6 separate regions of the Homo sapiens genome follow, and regions 2, 3, 4, 5 and 6 are each linked to region 1. Evidence: promoter capture Hi-C in 16 types of primary human blood cells and fetal thymus (Javierre and others, 2016). All regions are on one chromosome and are shown on one strand. Each heading gives the region's core, a stretch centred on a gene start or on the middle of the fragment in contact. The rest is flanking DNA. Distances are from core to core; before and after follow the strand shown.

What was found. Contacts are between HindIII fragments. The CHiCAGO score rates a contact against its expected background, and 5 or more counts as called.
Region 2: a contact is called between a fragment that was not itself captured here and the fragment with the promoter of FH in region 1, in 2 of 17 cell types (non-activated CD4 T cells and total CD4 T cells). The highest score is 7.3, in non-activated CD4 T cells.
Region 3: a fragment that was not itself captured here is called in contact with the fragment with the promoter of FH in region 1 in 1 of 17 cell types (total CD4 T cells); the score reaches 10.5 in total CD4 T cells.
Region 4: a fragment that was not itself captured here is called in contact with the fragment with the promoter of FH in region 1 in 1 of 17 cell types (total CD4 T cells); the score reaches 9.0 in total CD4 T cells.
Region 5: a fragment that was not itself captured here is called in contact with the fragment with the promoter of FH in region 1 in 1 of 17 cell types (naive CD8 T cells); the score reaches 6.7 in naive CD8 T cells.
Region 6: a contact is called between a fragment that was not itself captured here and the fragment with the promoter of FH in region 1, in 3 of 17 cell types (fetal thymus, total CD8 T cells and non-activated CD4 T cells). The highest score is 7.0, in fetal thymus.

What each region holds. Positions count from the first base shown.
Region 1 is chr1:241,517,970-241,521,403 of GRCh38, reverse strand. FH (fumarate hydratase) reads left to right here and starts at 1,649. Exons shown (of 10, transcript NM_000143.4): 1 at 1,649-1,813. The coding sequence starts at 1,682. RefSeq lists silencers at 1,535-1,664, 1,487-1,769, 1,945-2,214 and an enhancer at 1,275-1,871. The HindIII fragment of the contact is 3,380 bases long and covers 1-2,633 here.
Region 2 is chr1:244,464,529-244,467,962 of GRCh38, reverse strand. The region is part of intron 2 of CATSPERE (catsper channel auxiliary subunit epsilon); the gene reads right to left. Among named protein-coding and RNA genes, the nearest start is that of CATSPERE, 5.0 kb to the right of the region's middle. The HindIII fragment of the contact is 6,278 bases long and covers 1-3,434 here.
Region 3 is chr1:244,441,581-244,445,014 of GRCh38, reverse strand. The region is part of intron 1 of ADSS2 (adenylosuccinate synthase 2); the gene reads left to right. Among named protein-coding and RNA genes, the nearest start is that of ADSS2, 8.6 kb to the left of the region's middle. The HindIII fragment of the contact is 1,890 bases long and covers 964-2,853 here.
Region 4 is chr1:244,305,483-244,308,916 of GRCh38, reverse strand. The region is part of intron 1 of LOC105373262 (a long non-coding RNA gene); the gene reads left to right. Among named protein-coding and RNA genes, the nearest start is that of SPMIP3, 45 kb to the left of the region's middle. The HindIII fragment of the contact is 1,916 bases long and covers 293-2,208 here.
Region 5 is chr1:244,057,484-244,060,917 of GRCh38, reverse strand. No RefSeq gene overlaps it. Among named protein-coding and RNA genes, the nearest start is that of ZBTB18, 7.9 kb to the right of the region's middle. The HindIII fragment of the contact is 875 bases long and covers 1,321-2,195 here.
Region 6 is chr1:244,040,370-244,043,803 of GRCh38, reverse strand. It overlaps LINC02774 (long intergenic non-protein coding RNA 2774), which reads right to left. Exons shown (of 12, transcript NR_033883.1): 9 at 2,249-2,377; 10 at 255-381. Among named protein-coding and RNA genes, the nearest start is that of ZBTB18, 9.2 kb to the left of the region's middle. The HindIII fragment of the contact is 1,219 bases long and covers 1,070-2,288 here.

The DNA of each region.
Region 1 (3,434 bases), core at 400-2,899:
ATAATATGTGTCATAGGTAATTTTTAAAAGGGATTAAAATAACCTATTTATAAAAAGGCTATTAATTTGGGTTTTGAAAAGTTAAACTGTATGGTAGAAATAAGAGACATGCTCGAAACAAAAATGAAACAAAAAATAAAATAAAATGAGAAATATACAGCAGGCAAATAATAGCCAATATGAAATTGGTAGAGAAATATCAATATTAAAAAAAGTTTAAAAGGACAAGCAACAATAACAATAAAGAGGGGCACCACACAATGAAGAAAGAGATGATCTATGAAGAAATGATAAACATATGTTCATTAAATAATTTTGTGTAATAGCAAAGAAAAATGTTCTTTATTAAGAAACTGGATAAATAAAATATTTCATATTCATGTGATCCAATATGATTAATTTTAAAAGATCATGGCTATATCTTAAAAGCATAGAGTTCAATTATGCAACAGTAAAACTTTAAAGTAAAATATTAAAACCATTGTTTGTATATTAGTGTATGAAGCAAAAAATACACAGAACTGAAAGGATGCATCAAAATAATGATATACACAATAATGATACCTGCTGGGAAGGAGGAGAACAAAAACAAAACGTCATTCCATTATTAGCAATGTTTTAAAGAATTTGCATTCAGTTTTCTAGTGTGTTTTGATTGTAGTTCAACTATTACAATCTCATTTGAATTTTTATATTTTAAATATGTGTCAAATTTATAAGTCACAAAATAACATAATGTTACCAAAAGGTTTGGCAAGTTTGTAAGTTTGACTCATAAATTTGGCTTTGCAGGTTCTGGACTTTTGATTTTAAGAACATCCGATCGCTCTCTCTTTACTGTCATCTGGTTCCAAGCAATAGAAAAGAGAAAAGATAAAACTGTGGTTCAGATGCAATTTTATATCAATTCCTGCTTTTCTGTAATCAACTATTATATTAAAACAATATGCCTTTAATTTGAAAATGTATAAATTAGCTATGCAAAAAACTGGGAGAACGATATACAAATAATAAAAATTCCGAGGTTCCCTATAATTGTGTACGTCTTCCACAATACATTAAAAAAAAAAAAAGAGTTCTGAGGGTATAGGCTAAGAAGAGAAAGGAAACGGTAGCGATCTCAAAATGATAAGTTAAAAGAAATAAGTAAGTAGCTTATTTTTCAGTTGTGGGATTATGAATAATTACTATTTCATTATCTACACTTTGCTGCACTTCCCAAAATTTCTACACAGAAGATACAATCTGGAAGAAATGAAGAAAGATTTCAGTAGTAAGAACGTGTAATGAGTGATTACATGATAAATAAAACAATAAATATTTCTTTCTAGGATATTTCACCAACCAAACACGACCTGATTCACCAACTAATACTCCCGCCTTCTAACAGCCACACGTAAAAATCAGACCGGCTCCAAGAATAACCTGAGCCTCCTTTCCCATAATTCCCTTCTTTCTAGTTTCCCATGAATCCGAAGGCCTTACACCCCACACTACTACTAGAAAGTTAACCCGCCCCCTCATTCTTTACTGGTCATTCACGATTGGTCCTGCCCCACCTGTCGGTGTGAGGCTGTTGATTGGATAAGAGCGGAGGCCGGTGGGCGGAACGGTTTCTGACAACCGGCGTGGAGGCGTGGCCACAGCCGCCCAGAAATTCTACCCAAGCTCCCTCAGCACCATGTACCGAGCACTTCGGCTCCTCGCGCGCTCGCGTCCCCTCGTGCGGGCTCCAGCCGCAGCCTTAGCTTCGGCTCCCGGCTTGGGTGGCGCGGCCGTGCCCTCGTTTTGGCCTCCGAACGCGGCTCGAATGGTGAGCGCAGGCCGCCATCCCCCGGCCTCCCCGCAGTGACCTTCAGCCCTCCTGCCTGCCGGCCTGGGCGCCCGCGACTTGGCGGGAGAGATTCCCCGGGCGTCCGGGCCGCGCCAGACTCTGGGCTTAGCGCCCGTGCCGGCGTGGCGGGCCTCCCGGCCTCGGGACGCCTCTTCCGGCGCAGGGATGGAGCCGCAGCCCGGGAGAGCGCTTGGGGAGGGACGGGGGCTGTCAGAGAGGGTCCTACTGGGCCCGCTCCCGGCGCCTCCTCGGAGCCGTCCGTGGCGGGCCGAGGCCGGGGCGTTTTGAGGTAACTTCGCTGCTGCTGGCGCGCAGGCCCCCAGCCCCGGGGCGCTGCCCTCAAGGACAGTGCCGGCGTGGGCGGAGGGTGCTGGGAGAGGGGCAGCTCCCGCACCGTCCTGCCCCATAGCTGGGCCTTGCTGGCCGGACACTGGCCGCCTGTGCATCTAGTGGTTTCTGAACTGTGGTTTGTTTCGCCAAGGGGCACTGCACTGCTTTCAGGCCCTCCAGGTGGGGTAGAAGGTTCTTCGAAGATTTTACTTCCTTTGAAATTGCATGCTCAGTTTGTTAGGCTGACTATGGTTTCCCCCGTAATTGTTGTAAAACTCTTCAATTCCGAATACCGCGGGCATAGTGTTCTGAAGCATGTTTGAGCAGATTGGCTAGGAGCTGAATCGGTACTTTTTATTCAGAAAGCCAGCTAAGAACTTAAAGATCCAAGTTCAGGTTATGACATGCTTACGTAAGTCATTTTGCTCTTTAGAGTGTCATCTTTAGGAATGCAGGCTTTTAAAAAGCTTTAAATACATATGTATATTGTTAGGAAACGTTTGAGAAATGATAGTTGAAGAGTTACAGTTCTGCACTGGTGTAGCATGAGGTTTGCAATCTAAGAGATGTGATTTCAAATCCGTATGCAAAGTTGAAATACTTACAGCTACTCAGCAAAACTGCACATGTGAAAATACCATGTAGCGAGTGCTCATTAAATAAGTGCCCCATCTAGGGTATTTCAAAGGGCCAGTACTTTTTCTGGACTCTAAACTTCAAGATAATTTGATTGGGTCACTATACCTACGATATACAACTATACTACAGAATCAGAGATGTTTTGTATTCCTCGAACTCCCTGCTCGAATAATTTTAGGGCATTTTAAAACCTTTACATATTTTTAAATTTATTTATTGTTTATTTAGTGTTTTGTAAAGGGAAGCAGACTGGAGAACTTCTGAATCTATCCTGTTGATGCAAATGTCAAAAAATAGCAGCACTACTTTGCTCTTAGAATTGTAATGTTAGCTAAAATCAGATGGAGGTAGTTTTTGTTTTTTCTAGTTCTGGTACTTTTTGCCCTCTAACCATTCTCAGGTCCAAAATCTCTGTTGGTTTTGTTAAAAGTTCTTCCTGTTGCTAATGTTGAGAATTTCACATAACCCTTGATGCCCTAAGGTACCTTTTATTTAAAAGAACACATACAAATTCATTCAATAGAAAGATACTGTTTATTGAGTGCCTTCCACTTACCAGGCCCTGTAAATAAGACAGTCCCTATGGGGATAGGGTTTTACAGGCAGTGTTTTATTCTTGTCTTTAGTGGAG
Region 2 (3,434 bases), core at 699-3,198, 2.9 Mb before region 1:
AATGAATAGCAATAAATTTGAAAACACAATTGTAAAAGAAAATATATATTACATAGATTCCTCTTGCCTGGTATGGAATATTATAAAGTTTATACAGAATGTGTTCTTTTCTGTATGGCTACTTTCACAGAGTACAGTGAGATTCATCCATATTGTTTTGTGTTGACATGTAGACACAATGCACTTATTTTCATTTGCCATATAGTATCCTACTATGTGAATACACAGAAATGCATTTATCCCTCTATACTACTGATTGACATGCTACTGGGTTGTTTCTAGTTTGGAGTTCTTAGGAATAATGCTGTCGTAACCGTTCCTACATAGGTCTTCTGGTGCTGGATGTATACCTAGGAGTCAAACTAGTGTGTCACAGGATACGTATATATTCAACACTATTGGATAATAGCAAACAGGTTTTCAAAGTGGTTATACCAACCTGCATTCCTTCTAGTGGTGTATTAGAGTTCCTACTGCTTTACATTCTTACCACCCCTTGTTATCTTCAGTCTTCTTAATTTTAGGCATTCTGATTGGTTTGTAATTACATCTCCCTGTAATTTTAATTCACACTTCACTAATTTTTCATAAGTTTGCTGGTCATTTGTACATCCTTTTTTGTGAAATATCCCCTTAGGTCTTTTCCTCCTTTCTTTTTTATACTTTAGAAAAATTTAAACAATACTGAAATGATGTGCTTCTTAAAGATTTGGTAGAATTCCCACACAAAACCATCTGGGCCTGGTTCAAATTATAAATATTTATTTATTTATAAAGGGAGCACAACACTGATAGAAAACACAACAGAAATTGTTGAGTTATTTAGTAAAAATTAACTAAAGACTCCTGATTCTAATTTACGAGTGATACCACACAGTGCTAGGAATTGACTGTTGTGTATTGTATTCTCAGCCATGATCATTCATTCCTGCATAACTCTAGGCTATCCCTAGATTGCAGGAGCTGGAAACCAGGAACCCTCAAGGGTTCTGAACGACTGAAAATCAGATGTGGACTGGAACTTGTAAAAAAGAGGAAGCCATTCTTCTTCCTCAGGCAGTGGTACCAAAAGTCCAGGCTTCAAAGATAGGTGGTTTTGGGGAAGGCCTCTGTCCCATCTTTCCATTGAGCACCATCCCTCATTAGGTACTGGGAGAGACTTGTGACATGGGCACCTATTTCCTCCAGGTCCTGATCTCTGGTGGCAACAGCAACTTTTTGACTATTGATAAACCTAAAAATTAGTGGGGGTTTCTAAGACCCTTGCTTTCCTAGCCCTCCCAACAGTTTGGTGAGCACCTAATTTCCTGTAGCAAATAAATTTCTGCTTGAAATATCTAGAGTGGTTACTGCTGTCCTCTGACCCCTGACTGCTACACGCTCCCTTAAAGACAGGGATAATATGACAAGTGTTTAACAAGTTGTACAGCACAGACACTGACAGTTCCAAGCGAATACCAGGCAGCATGCTACCCAAGTGTGTACTGGCTGGATTCTGCCTGCCTTAGAGGGCATCTGGAAATATGGAAGAGTATCTCAGGTCACACAATCCCTGAGGATTGTCACTGCTACTTAGTGTTTGGGAACCAGGGAAGCAAGCTGTTCTGCAAAGCAAAGGATAGTTCCATACAATGAAAATTTTTCCTGCTCAAAATTTCAGTGGCATCCCCACTGAGATAACTGCTGTGGAGCAAACTCATGTATGAATATTGATAAAAGAATCTTATATAAAATATTAACAATAGTCCCTGAGAGCATATTGAACTACTACATTGGTACCGTGTGGGGTTTTCCCAAAATCCAAGGATGATACAATAAAAGTGAATATGTTAATATGATTCACTATGATAACAAGTCTGAGAAAACTCAAAAACTTTTTTCTGTAGACTGTGAAAAGGCATTTCACAATTCACTATAAGTATCACTTATAGCGACTATTTTTTACCATATTCAATAAATTAGGAACCAATGAATACTTAGTTAATTTAATGAAATGTATCTCTCTCTGCCCAAAAGGGAGCATCTGTTTAATTGGGAGATGTTGGAAGAAATCTACTAAAGTTAGGAAGAAGATAATGAGATCAACTCTGGAGGGCTACATCATTCTTCATGAATTGGAAGATTCAATATCATAATGATACCAGTTACTATGATAACAATGTCAGTTCTCCCCAAGTGCAATCCCAATCAAAATCTCAGCAGATTTTTGCTTGTGAAAACTAACAGCCTTATTCTAAAATTTATATAAAAACGCAAATAGCCAAAGTAGTCTTGTGGAAGAACAAACTAGATGTTCACAGGACCAGATCCGAAGACTCATTAGAAAGCTATAGCAGTTAAGAGAGTGTAGAATTGGCACCAGGACAAATAAGAAAGTTCACAAACAACTCATCTACATACGGAACAAAGGTGACATGAGAAAGGTAATAGGGGAACAGTGAGTTGTTTAATAGATTCTGGTTCATTATGTGAAAAAAGTAATGTGAATGCCTATTGTACTATATACAAGGCAGACTCTAGATGGATTTATGACCTATATTTTAAAGGTAAAAATATAAGAAATATAAACTAAAATTATAAAAACATTTCAGTTCAGGGTAAGCAAATATTTTTATTAAATAAGAGCCCTGGACAGGCGCGGTGGCTCAGGCCTGTAATCCCAGCACTTTGGGAGGCCGAGGCTGGTGGATCACGAGGTCAGGAGTTCAAGACCAGCCTGGCCAATATGGTGAAATCCCATCTCTACTACAAGTACAAAAATTAGCCGGGCATGGTAGTGTGCACCTGTAGTCCCAGCTACTCAGGAGGCTGAGGCAGAAGAATCGCTTGAACCCGGGAGGCAGAGGTTACAGTGAGCCAAGATTGCACCACTGCACTCCAGCCTGGGTGACAGAGTGAGACTCTGTCTCCAAAAAAAAAAAAAAGGAGCCTCCAAAAGTTTAAATCATAAGGCAAAGGAGGGGAGAGATTTGGCTCATCAAAATTCAGCTTTTTTTTTTTTCAGTAAAGTATCCATGAACAAAGTTAACAGAAACTTGAGATAACTGAATCTTTGAAACCAACATTTGATTAATTTTTACAACGCAATGTAGATAGCACTGTGTTAACGAGTAAGAAAAAGGCAGAAAATTAAATGAAAAATAGGCAAAGGGTATGAACAGGTAATAGAAGGAGAAGCCTACATAATATGCGAAGAGATGCTCAAAATCACTAGTCATCAAAGAAACTGAAAATAACAACAGCAATAGCTATCACTGGATAATAATGAGATTGGTAAAAAAAAAATAGGAAATTTAATAACACCAAATTTTGGTGAAGATGTACATTGAGTGAGAATATAAATTGTAACTGCCATTCGGGAAACAATCTTGCGGAACTTTGTTAAATTAAGTGTATTTCCCATGGCCAGGCAACTCTATTTGGCTACATATAGC
Region 3 (3,434 bases), core at 659-3,158, 2.9 Mb before region 1:
GAACATGTTTCCCTGCCTGGATCAGTTTGCTGTGGCTGGGGGGATGATTCCTATGATTTGCAAAGTAGGGGAAAAGGAGGGGGACTGAGCATACAAAAGCTATAACTAACCTGGAGTTAATTTTGTATAGGAAAATAAGGTATGAGGAAGCATTTGTTCTGGATTGTTCTCATTTATAAATTGTTTTCCAAAACTCTAATGTGCTATTGACCTGTAGTGCTTTTCTGGAACAAAAAATAGAGTTAAATTGGTTTTTATTATTTTAACCTTAATTAAAATAATGAAAATTAGCTATGTATTGATGGTAAAAACTAAAAGCATACATCAGAAACTTTGCTTTTCAGCTTTGAGAACATAGAATTTTAGTCCTGCTTTTTGTTTCTATCATGATGTTCCAGTTTATTTCATAGCTCTGTGATGAGATACATTTTTTCCTGGTAATTAAGAAGCTTATTTAATATTTTCTTTGTATTTCATCTTTTTTTTTTTTTTTTTTTTTTGAGATGGAGTCTCGCTCTGTCGCCCAGGCTGGAGTGCAGTGGCGGGATCTCGGCTCACTGCAAGCTCCGCCTCCCGGGTTCACGCCATTCTCCTGCCTCAGCCTCCCAAGTAGCTGGGACTACAGGCGCCCGCCACTACGCCCGGCTAATTTTTTGTATTTTTAGTAGAGACGGGGTTTCACCGTTTTAGCCGGGATGGTCTCGATCTCCTGACCTCGTGATCCGCCCGCCTCGGCCTCCCAAAGTGCTGGGATTACAGGCGTGAGCCACCGCGCCCGGCCTGTATTTCATCTTAATGTAAGAATAACAGTCAAAGAAAATTGGTAAAATATATACTATATTAGGGGATGTTTTGTGACTGCAATTGAATTTTCTTTCATATATTGTTCACTTTAATAAAATTAACCTGCATTTATTCTTGGTATTTAATATAAGAAGAACATCATATAAGGCATTATAAGCTTATGCTTTTCCTCAAAGAAACCTGCCACGTAGCTACTTGTGGACTCATGCTGTTTTTTGTTTCTTGGGGTGTTGGTGGGGGGTAGGGTATATTTCAGAAGTAAAATGGTTTAAAAATTGGCCTCAACCTGAAAGCCTGCCATGCAGTGTTGTGGCACTGATGGAAGTGTGAATGAGAAGGCGGTGTCAGCACGTGGCTGGAGAGCCGCTCCGCCACTCTGCCACTCCGCCTCCCTGCCACGTGGCTTGTGAGGAGCCACTAAACCTTTCCGTGCCTAGGCCTCCCCATCTGTGGAATAGTCAGTACCACCTACTTCATAGGGGTGTTGTGCGGACTGAAAAAAACAATGTCAAATGTTTTTAATATTCAGATGCAAGGATGATGTCTGAAATCTGTACTGTATAAAGGCTACACAAAAATGGACAGACATTTGGTTGACTGTGCCAGATACCAAAAATGTACGTTCAGAAAAGCATTTTACCAACTCAGAAATATGACTTATTTCTAGGAAAAACAAAGTTCAAAAAATTATCTCTGAGATTTATTACTAAATGTTTTCCCTGTTGGATATAATTGATCCAGAAACAACGTTGAGATTCCACAGCCCTTTGTTTATATAACTATTAATTGAACATATTCTATTTTTTTGTTAAGTAATATAGAATATACAGCTATGATAATGAAAAGTATTTGTTAAATGCTACAAGAGTGACTGGGATCATAAGTGTTACGGGAGTTTGGCAAAGAAGCAGGAGGTAGTTAGTGTAACTGTTAATGTGATTATAAGACTAATACATTTGTGGGAGATAACTTACCAAGTTTGGTTTGTGGAAAATTTGGATTGAGAAGGAAATTGTATGTTTCCGTTAGAAGTAGAACAACAACAACAAAATATCTCCCATCATTTGTTTGGTACTATCTGGCCTCCCCAGTGCTGCTTGGGAGAATCATGAAACATGATGAATCAAACACATCCTTGCTGTTGCTCATCCTGGCACATATTACACAGAGTTGCCCATGGGCCCATGTAGGAGCAGCTCCATCTGCCCTTCTAATACATAGGTGGGAGACTGAGGGGGTGCTCGTATTTGAAACTGTTTTTGGTTATGGTGCTCATATTTGAAATGCTTTGTTTTACTGTCTGCTAATATGTGACCTCTCCTTGAACCAGTATAATCTCTGTTTGAGGACAATTGCCTGAGCTCCCAAGGTGAATTTTGCCTATTTACATAATCTGAATATTTTAGGTTAACATCCAAATGGGCACTTCAAATTTCTTTATCTGTTGCATTTTATAAAATACAGTATACTAAAACTTGCTTCCTATATAGATTACCTCATCAAGAAACTCCTTATGAGCAGCTCTTTCTCAGTTCTCCTGAAGACCCTTCTGTGTAGTGTGCGTTTCAAGATTAAAAGTTATACCCCAACTGCCTCACAGAGCACTAGTGACCAAATATAAATAAGCACTTAGATATTTCCCCCTAAATCCCACGTAGGATAATCTCGGGTGTTTCTGGGTATATTTAACAATGTTTCCATACGGAAACAACTTAAATGATATTTAAACCATATAATAATCAATGTAATACTGGTTATTGAAAAATGTTGCTATTTTTCAATAACTAATATTTGAATGAGCAAACTTTATACCACCATGTGACTTTGTCTTTTACTGCTGAACTTTCCAGCCTGAGCTGCCTATAAACTTGGACAAACTTAGGGAGTTAAGCCAATTTTTCCCCCTAAAGTCATCCATCACAACCATCTGCCTAAAAAATTTGTGTGTGTGTGTGTGTGTGTGTGTGTAGAGCAACCATCATCTCTTTATTATGGTTAATTCCATCATTACTATCTGTCTTGGTAAAATATTAGCTAAGAGAGTAAGCTTTTGTTACACAATAAGAACATTGTCATTCACTACCAGTAATAATTGTCAAATAATAATTCATCAAATGATTATATTGGTATAGCTATAAAAGTAATTTTGTGTAAATTAGGAGACCTACTTTAAGGGTCTACTCCAAAAATTAGAGTAGTTTATTTTTAACCTTGAGCAAATGATGAATTTTTTAAAACTTTTTGTTTGTTTGTTTGAGACAGAGTCTTGTTCTGTGGCCCAGGCTGGAGTGCAGTGGCGTGATCTCGGCTCACTGCAAGCTCCGCCTCCTGGGTTCACGCCATTCTCCTGCCTCAGCCTCCCGAGTAGCTGGGACTACAGGCACGTGCCACCACGCCTGGCTAATTTTTTGTATTTTTAGTAGAGACGGGGTTTCATTATGTTGGTTAGGATGGTCTCAGTCTCCTGACCTTGTGACCTACCCGCCTCAGCCTCCCAAAGTGCTGGGATTACAGGTGTGAGCCACCGTGCCCAGCCTAAAAACTGGTTTTAAAAAAATAAACTGGTTGTAGTTAGGCAGGGTGACATGCACATGCGGTCTCAGGGACTCAGGAGGCTGAGACAGGAGGAT
Region 4 (3,434 bases), core at 1-2,500, 2.8 Mb before region 1:
GAATGTGACCTTATTTTGAAATAGGGTCATTACAGATGTAATGAAGGATCTCCAATTGAATCCGTCCAAGGATTAAGGTGGGCCCTGAATCCCATAGACTGGTGTCCTCATAAGAAAAGGTGAGGACAAAGAGAGACACAGAGACACACAGATAGCTATGTGAAGATGGAAGCAGAGGTTGGGGATCTGCTGCCACAAACAAAGGCACCCCAAGTATTGCCAGCAACCACCAGAAGCAAGGAGAAAGGCATGGGACGCTTTCTCCATCAGAGTCTCCGGAAGGAACCAAGCTTACTGACACCTTGATTTTGGACTTCTAGCCCCCAGAACTTCAAGATAATACATTTCTGTTGTTTAAAGCCATGTGGTTTGTGGTAATTTGTTATGACAGTGCTAGAAAACTTATACAAACCCTCCAAGGCAGAAATAAACATGGGCACAACACTGCTACCCAATCCACAGATCCCATTCAAATTTTGCTGGCTCAGCCCATCATGTCTCTTTTCCCTTTCAGGTCCAGGATCCAGTCCAGGAGCATGCATTACATTTAGTTGTCACATGTCCGAATAGAAGGAAGGAGATTCCCTTCAATATGGAATAATTTCTTAGTCTTTCCCTGTCTTCCACATCCTTCCGTTTTTTGTTTTTGTTTTTATTTTGAGACAGTCTCACTCTGTCACCCAGGCTGGAGTACAGTGGGGTGATCATGGCTCACTATAGCCTTGACTTCTCCAGGCTCAGGTGATCCTCCTACCTCAGCCTCCTGAGTATCTGGGACTACAGGCGTGTGCCACCACACTCGGCTAATTTTTGCTTTTTTTTGTAGAACAGAGTTTCAAGTTGCTCAGGCTGGTCTCAAACTCCTGGGCTCAAGTGATCCACCCACCTTGGCCTCCCAAAGTGCTGGGATTACAGGCACGACCCACTGCAACTGGCCCCACATCCTTCAGTTTTTAAGAGTGCAGGCCTTTTGTTATGTAGGATGGCCCTAGACCTGGTTCCATCTAATATTTCATTTTGGTCAGACCTCGCCATGATTTCTTGACAGGAAAATGATGGACAGGATCCTGGGCTCTGCACATTACAGCATATGATGTGGTCTTGTCTCATCACTGGTGATGTTAATCTTGATTGCTTGGTCATGTTGGTGTCTTCCATATTTCTCCTCCATTGAGTCACCATTTTCACCTTTGCAATTGATAAGCATTTTGTGGGGAGATTTTCTAAAATTATGCTAAAATCCTGATCCTTAACAACTTCTACCCATCAGCCTTAATATTTGTGGATGATCCCTATCTGAATAAATTATAACCATAATAGTGTCATATGGTGGTTTGCTATTTTCATCATTCCTTCTACATTAATTACTTGGTATTCTACTGTAAGAAAGAAGTTCCACTGCTTCCTCTATTTATTTACTTATTTATTCATTTATTTAGTAGTATGAATTTCAATTTAACAGGTTAAAAACCATGCTTGTTCTTTGTGAAAGTATATAACGTTATTATCTTTATCAGAGAAGAAATGGTTCTGAACTTCTCAAGAAAGTATACAAGCAGTATAAAAATGAGATAATTACACTTACTTAACATACCTTATTTTCATCCAAATAAACACGAAAAGAATCCAACATGATATTTGAAATTCTACCATAGGGTATTTTACTAGAAAAATAGAATCTTGTGTTTTTGGTAATGTTTGTTCATATCACAAAATTACTGAGAAGCGAAACATTTCTAAATTCACATTAGAACATTGTAATTCACATTTGTGTTAGAATGATGGTTACCAGAGTCTGGGAAGGGTAGTGGAGTAGTAGAATGGGGGATGGTTATTGGATATGAAAATATAGTTAGTTAGAATGAATAAGATCTAGTATTTGATAGCACAACAGGGTAACTACAGTCAACAATAATTTATTGTACATTTAAAAATAACTATAAGACTATAATTAGATTGTAACACAAAGAAAGGATAAATGTTTGAAGTGATAGATACCCCATTTATCCTGATGTGATTATTACACATTGTATGCTTGTATCAAAATATCTCATGTACGCCATACATATATATGCCTACTGTGTACTCACAAAAATTAAAAATTGTAAAAATAAATAAACAAAACAAAACAAAATTGTTTGATATTTCTTTTATAAATTCCCTTTCACAAATCTTTTCATGACTTACACAGAACATCTATGAAAAGCTTGGACTTTCTCACTTGTCCTAAGCATCCCTCTTTTTAAACAATCAGTTATTTTTCTTTAGGATGCAAATTTACGACAAAAGATCCTTTCTCATATAAAATTTCTTTTCTTTATAATCTTCCTTAACAAAAATACCTCTTTACCTTTATAACCTTTGAATTAGAGAAAAGTTATTTTCCTTCTGTTAGGAATTTATGGTTTGTACTGCATGTTGTTGTGTGTGTCCTGTGAAGGGGAAGCAAATGAGGAGGTTATCTACATACTGTAGAAGTTGTTTCCCCTCAAGAGATTGCTCGGTTAGATTTTTGCTAGGGCTCATCCAAATAAGTGTGGGCTATTTTTAAACCCCTGAAGTAGGATGGTACAGGTTGAAGTTATCGGTTAAAGATTTAGGTAGCTTTTTGGGAGAAATAGGGCTATTAGAGAGGAAGGTGAATTCAGAGGTTGGGTACATATTAAGCAGCCACCCATTTTGGAAAGTATATTTTTGTCCTAAAGGGGTGTGAATCTTTTCTTTTAGAGGGAGAGGGTGACATTTGCCCTGTTACCTGATAGGATTTGGAGAAGAGTTGCTTAGAGAAGTAGATTAGCATAGACTAGGCAGCTCTTGAACCCAAAAGGGAAATGTATAATTTTACTTGCTACCTCTACTGTTGCCCTTGGCTTTGTCTTGCTGATGACAATGTCTGACTTGGAAGCCAGCCAGAGCAGAGGTCTCCTTCAGCTCAAGGCCATCAGGGATTGGGATCCAGTCCTTCGGCCGTCAGAGCAGTTCTTTTCCAGTGGCAGAGCTTGTGGCAAAGGGGCAAGCTGTGCCGGGCTTTTTCCCATTTATCTCATTGGGGCAGTTTGCCTTCCAGTGGCCTGGCTTCCCACACCAATGACAGTTACCTGAAGGACTGTCCTTAGGGTAACCTGAAGGGGGCTGGAGAGCTTGTAAAGCAGCCAGTTGTTGAGCCTGTCTCTTGTCCCTGCATTTCCCTTTCTCCTTAGCCCTGTCCTCCTTATTCTGCTTTTAGTTACAAAAGACTGAGGAGGCTGATTTGAGGATTTCCTATATAGGGGCACTAGGTTCTAAGGTTGACTTTTGTAATTTTCTCTCAGTTCGTTTTTAGGCCAAACAGTATTACAAAAGAAAACTAGTTTTTTGTTTTTAGGTTTGAGGAGGATCAAATTTTTCCCAGTTCTTGAGGATACAACCAGGGGGCATGTCCCATGCTATGAAGA
Region 5 (3,434 bases), core at 509-3,008, 2.5 Mb before region 1:
AATAAGTCATTTCCGTGAATGGACTCTCTCTGGGTGTCACACGGCCTCTCAAAGCCACTCTAAATATCCTCACTGAAACTGTTACTGACTAATGTGCTACATTTTAAAGCCAAATTGGGTTTTCACTCCTTTCTTGCCAAACTAACTAGAGAATGCCTCCTATAGCAAATTGCAAGCTTGACTGCAAACCCATTTCCAAAGATTAGAAAAGGGAGATACCTTATTTGGCCATATGTGCCCCAAAAGTCAAGAAAAATTTTGGTTTTCAAAGAATATATATATACATTTTTTGTGAAGTACCTACAGCTAAAGAAAAGTACCATGATCACATAAACCTAGGAATTATGATGCACAGTACATTAGTAAATGCTAGAATCAAATCAGGAAATTTACCTGGATAATTCATCCCTCTCAAAAAAAATGCTGATTTATTGCAAGTACTTAAATATTTTTAGACAAATACTATCCTATAAGCCTGAATTACCTGGATGATTAATTCAACAATTTATTTAGTGTAAGCAGATACATTATAAAGTATTTAGACTTAAAAAAAAAAAACAACTTTTCATGCCATTGTTCCATTTATATGACCTCATCCTTTCTGATTACAGTGTTTTAAATTTGGAGTTTAGCTTCTTTCACAAGAAATTACAAAAGTTAATTAGTAAAGATTTTTTTAAGGGGTTGGTTCACAAAAATACTGAAAGTCCAATTTCTAAAGTGCCTCTGAAAATGAATTTCTAAAAACCTCCCGTGTCATCAATAAGATCTGATTACTTTAGCTATCCTTTTATAATATTAAGGAAATGTAAGCAAGGGCGGAGGTCCTAGAAGCATAAAATGTTTCTTTTTTATGGAAGTAAACCTACTCGGAGTCAAAAGATAAACGGTTCTACATTTTAAACCAAGGGATTATATACAAAGATATTTTGCCGTGTTTTTGTAGGCAAAGGTACAAAAATTTTAACATAAGGGACAAAATCCTGTCAGTATAATAAACTTGGACTACAGCCAAAATGAAACTCCTAAAAGCTATTCGCTTTTAAAAAATAAAACTATTCCTTTATTTTTAAAGATGGTATCTTTAGCATTTTAATGTCAAGTAATTTCAGTGAAAAGGACGGAGCTTTTCTTTGCCGCATTTCAAATTCACACTCAATTCACTGTACCTTATCAGCAAATTCAAGCATTGCAACAAACAATTATAACAAAAATTTAGGTCAGTATCTACAAATTAAAATATAAAATTATCTCAGTTTCCTAGTCAGAGCATGTGAAACTTTCCCTCGTTATAGTGGAAATCAAAGAATGTTTTAAGCTTTATAGGAATAAAATAGTCATGCCATGCAGGAAATTTTGAGGTCTTAAGACCATTAAAAAAAAAATCTTATATGTACAATGGGATTTCTTGAGTCAAGGCTTCATGGAGTCAGTGAGTCGGTGTGTGTTTTATACGTAACACTTGGAAGTTCGAGATTTTTTAAGTAGTGCCACTTCTTGGTAAAAAAAAAAAAAAAAAAGATTTTTTGATGGTAGTTAAAAAGATTTACTTGGAAAATGATTATTTTGGCCATTTTAACTGTTCTAAAATGTTAATATAGTATTCCCCTTTTTCCAACCTTTCAATAACCTATTTGTAGATATTCATAACAAATGTTAAAGAAAAACTCTATTTGATTCACCTATTAATCTGATAGCATAATTAACCAGAAAGGAAATCCGAAACTAGTATCCTTAACACTTTATACTTCTTGGATCTTCCCTAGGGTACCCCTAGCACACAATGCTGAACCCACATCAATCCAGTGCATAATTGATTATCTAAAGGAAAAAGAAGTTTTCTAAAGTAAATAAAACTACATATTTAAAATATACTATGTATCAGCCAGATGTCAAAGGAGGGATCAGTTTTAATGGTTTCCAACATGATCACATGACAAATTAATTTCCTTTTTTAAATGTGGCAAATAAATGATTCCTTCATTTCACTTACCAAATGTGGCAGTTTGTGTAATTAATATTCTGTTCTAGTTTTGCAAAGAATGTTTTAAGAAGTTACTTCTTCCAAATCATGTCAAAATATTATTTTTATAAGTATATCCAGTTAAGATTGTTAAGATAATGTTCCTTACTTAAAATTAGATGTTAGTCCACAGAACTAAATTCAAGTAAACGCTCAGCATCTTCAGGAAGCTTTGAGATACTCTGACCAGTTACTATAGGAACTGAAAATAAAAAGTCCCCCTCCCTCCCCTTTTTGTAAGCTTGTAACTGCTCAAGAAATTATTCTATGGGGGTCAAATGTACATTCCCCTTTCATGTGAAACAGTATTTGGCTGGTTAAAACCAAGGATGAGTTACATACTTTAAAAATTGTTTTAGAAAAAAAAAAAAAAAGGCAGGGGGATGGAAATTAGGATTCCAAATTATGTTATTATACTTCATGACAAAATCCCTGTGGCTTCCTATCCAAAGCCACCAGGTAGTTGGTAAATGGTCCATTTTCAAACTTCAGACCTTATATCCCACTTCTGTAGGTTAAAAATATTGACCTTACTATAGGCCACTGAATATAAACATAGTTTGACAGTAATAATGTAAAATTTCATAGTCATATTTCTATTTAAGGTTGGAAGTTAGAGACAAGCACGGTTTACAAAACCTCTCCATGCCTGCACCTGACTGCTTGAGCTTAGGGTTGTTTGTGACAATTCCTCTACAGTATCATCCGCATGTGTGAGTGTTCTGTCAATTCCCTACCCAGGTCAACCAGCAATGTTTCTCACCCTGACATGTACCCAACTAGATAAGCATGAAGTTGGGACAATCATAAAAAGTAGGGAACAGAGTTCTTTTAATGGTCCATGTATTTAATTACATGTTTAAATTAAAACTTGAGAATTAAAACCTAGAAACTTTCGAGTTCTCCCAGCAACAAAAAGGATGTATATAGCTAATCGTGAACAATTGCATGCCTGCTAATTCAATTGCCTAGAATTCCAGTCATTAGCCAAGCAGTCTTCCAAATTAAAACATCCGGTCTCCTTCAATTTTCCACTTAAACCAGAACACAGGAGAATAGATTTGACCGATCAACTTAGGATAAAATTACACACGAAAAGTGACTTACGGTATATGGATTAGTAGTTGTACAGTGTATTTTTAACAACCTATGCTGCCACGTAGTTTCATGATTCATGAGTTTCTAGGGAATTACCTCAACATTCTTGATGTAGATTGTGAAAATGGGTCGCATTTTTTAAATGTGCATTTAGTATCTTCTTAAGTGACTAGAATGCTTACACATTTTCCACTCGAGTGATTTAAGGCATTCTAATAATTTCATAAACTCCGAATAGAATTGATATTAAAGATGCCAGGTATGATACATATTTAGAATCTATACACTACATAATCACAATAAAAAATACACA
Region 6 (3,434 bases), core at 430-2,929, 2.5 Mb before region 1:
AGAACCCCTTCTTCAATGATGGAAGTCTTCAGGGGTATCAATTGTGCTAAAATGTTGTACAATATTAGTAAATAGAAGTTGTTTTATTCAAAATGAGAGGATAAGACTTCTAAATATTTGAATGCTAATATTCTCACTTGTATTACATTGCTTAAATTGGAGTTTGTAGAAATTCGGGTTGCAAATGAACTTAGAAAAGTTGAAATGAACAGAACAAGAGAGGTTACCAGGTAATATTGATGCCTCACACCTACTGTGTGTTAGCTGCTGTGCTTCGGACGCAAAGATACAAATAGCGTCTGTCTGTCTGTCTGCATTCTCCTCCAGGGAGAGATTTTTCCTTTCCTTTTGTGCTTGCTTCACTCTTGAATGCAGCACCTTCTTGGATTTAAACAAGCAGAAAGGAAAATGATACATCTAGAAATTATTTACTAAGAACTTAGTATATGTTAGAGAAACACGAAACTGCATTATCATGGTTCTTGTTAAGTTTCCACCATGTGCTGGGTGCCAACAATACATGAAATAATATCATTCCCTCTTATATCTTCATTATGTATATATAAATGTCATTGTGAATCCACTGGACAAAGATGAGATTTCATTTTTCTTTCAGAGACTAATATGTTGCTGATGCCTAATAAGTGTTTACCAATCTTAACTACTGTAACAAGATAAAATTGTCTTAATACAACTCTTTGGTTATAAAGAAATTCTATAAATTTAACACAAAAGTCTTGATACATACCAAATTCAAACTATTCCCGGTAATAAGAGCAGACAGAAGGTTAAATTTCACTCCAGAAATTTACTTCGCCCTTAGCAATAACATGCAACTCAGGAAGTTACTTCTCTTACAAAGAACTAGCATTTATGCCTAAGACTAAAATGATTATTTTTAAAGTACCCATTTTACAATGCAAATGTGTATCTAAATTAAACTCAGTAAAAATAAGCATTTTAAATTGAAGCTGCAGTAATAGCTTTATGGGAGACAATAGGAAAAGTGGTTCTTGAATATGAACTCAGAGAACACACATTTCACATTCCTTCTAGGGGCCTTGAAGCTTTCTTTGTTCTCTGTCTCTGTACATAAATGTCACATGTTTTAACTGAAAACCCATTGCTCTGAAGTAACTTTACACAACTGAGGCTGTTCAGCAAGGTCATGGCAAAAAAAAAAAGTTTGGGTTCAGAAAAAGAAATTGGACTCACAACTGGTGTACAATGCCACGCCGTACCTTAGCACTTGGGATATGGGACAGATGCAGGAACACAGGCTCACTAAAACAGACAGTGACAAGAGACTGCATAACAAAGACACATGCACAATAGGGCATTTTAGAGACAAATGACAGACAGAGTAGAGCAATATATGGGACAACAGCTTTACAGGGATGGGAGGGCTGTAAAGAATGGTGAGAAGATGGTGACAGTGTAGAAGAAGGATAACGGAAGAGAGGTAAAGAGAAGGAAAGATCCCACTGGGAAGTGGTCTATGGTAGAGGCCATGGTGGTGGCAATGGTGCTGGCAGAGTTGGTGGTGGCAGCAGCAAGGTAAATAAAGCAGAGATGTGAATACTTCTTCCTGGGCTCTGCTGATGTATGCCACTATTTTTTGTCTTGCAAATTATTCTTAAATAATACTTCATGAAATAGCTGGCCCCAAAGTAAAGAAGACTAGAATATACTCAGTTGATTTTGCCAAGAGAGCACTTGATAAAAGAATAAAGAATTTTAAAAAAATAATGTAGACTATACTCAGTATTTAACTCTTTCCAGACATGAGGTTGCTACGATCAGGGCAAGGCGTGTGTGTGTGTGTGTGTGTGTGTGTGTGTACTCACATGCACACTCATATACCTAAGTTACTAGTTTGGCTGGTTTTTCTGGTAAGATTGGCTTAATATGAACTAGATTTTTCTTAATAGAGATAAGAATTTCATAGCACATTCATTGCGTAGTTTTAGGTTGACCTTATAGGGAAATTGTAGGTATGTATTGACATTTCATTGAGTAATTTGAACTATTTGTTAACCTAACTAATCACATTTCAGAAATAAATTCATTCCTTCAACAGCCACTGAATCCCTATCATGCATCAGGCCTGGTTGGAATTACATCAGCCTCTGTACAAAACATCTGGCCTGGCTCATAACCAGATGCACGAACTAGCATTGGAAGGAAACACTCTTGAACTACTTTGATAAAGTGAACCAGGAAAATTCCCATTATCAAAGATACCCACCTATTTTTTGTTTCCTATCTTCCTTGGTGGGATGTAAGCTTCCTCAGGATGGGGACTCTTCTATGATAATAGCTGTATCCTTAGCACCTAGAATGGTGCTTGGCACATAATACGCATTCAAGAAATAGTCTAGAAAGGGAGGGAGGGAGAGAACAGAAGGAAAGAAGGGAGAGGGCAGAAGAGAAGGAAAAGAAAGGGGAAGGCGGGGAAAAGGGAAGGGAGATAATGAAAAGAAATAACTTACACCTTTGCATTTTTCCAAGGCCAGCGGGATTAGCAATGCTTTACATGTTCAACTGCTCCCTTTAAACTTGGGATGAAGGACAGCTTATTATGTAGACTACCAGAAAAGCATCTATTTACTTTTTGGGGGTGCACTCTGACCCAACCTAGAAATATCCCAGATGGATGTGGTAGAGACTTTACTCCTGGGAGAAGCATAGCGATTCTTTAGGATATAGAAGAGATGTTTCATCCTTGAGGCATTTTAGAGGTGAGTTATTCCTCAAACATCGCTTATAGGCATAAGATGTGTTGTTATTTTCATTACTTGGAGGAGAATGTTGAAATGGAATGGCTAAGTGACTTGTCCAAGGCCCCAAATTAAGATTGGTGAGTTGCAGAGCTAGTTCATCAACAATTCACTAAGTCATTTTTCTTCAGATATTTAGGCCACTCTGAAATCAAAAGAAAAAACTCCATTGTTTTTAAACAAATTAGAATCTGCCATGCTTTGAAAACACATAGTCATTTGGGTGTTTATCCTTGAGGATACATCCATGATCTCAATCGAACCACATAAACAAGCTAAAAATATAATGAAAGGAATTATTCCTGACTTTTCAAGTGTAGCTTCAACTACAGACATATGCTATTGGTGGATATAAACGAAGATACCTCCAAGCAAGAAATGTTTTCCCTTTCTGTAGGTCCTATTAAGACAGTAGGGTCCTAGTAGCAGTAAATTTGGTGCAGAGGAACTGATAAAATTATATATTTGGGTGCATCCGGTGACTATGAGAGAGAAAAGATTATATTTTCATTTGCATGGTTTGCTGGGTTTTATTTGGCAGATATAATAACACAGGCTACGCAGAACCCATAAAACAAAGTGAGAACAGCAGCTCATTTGGTGGCAGAATGTAATGGTTGTAGCTAAAGGGCTTACATAATTCATCTCAAACCC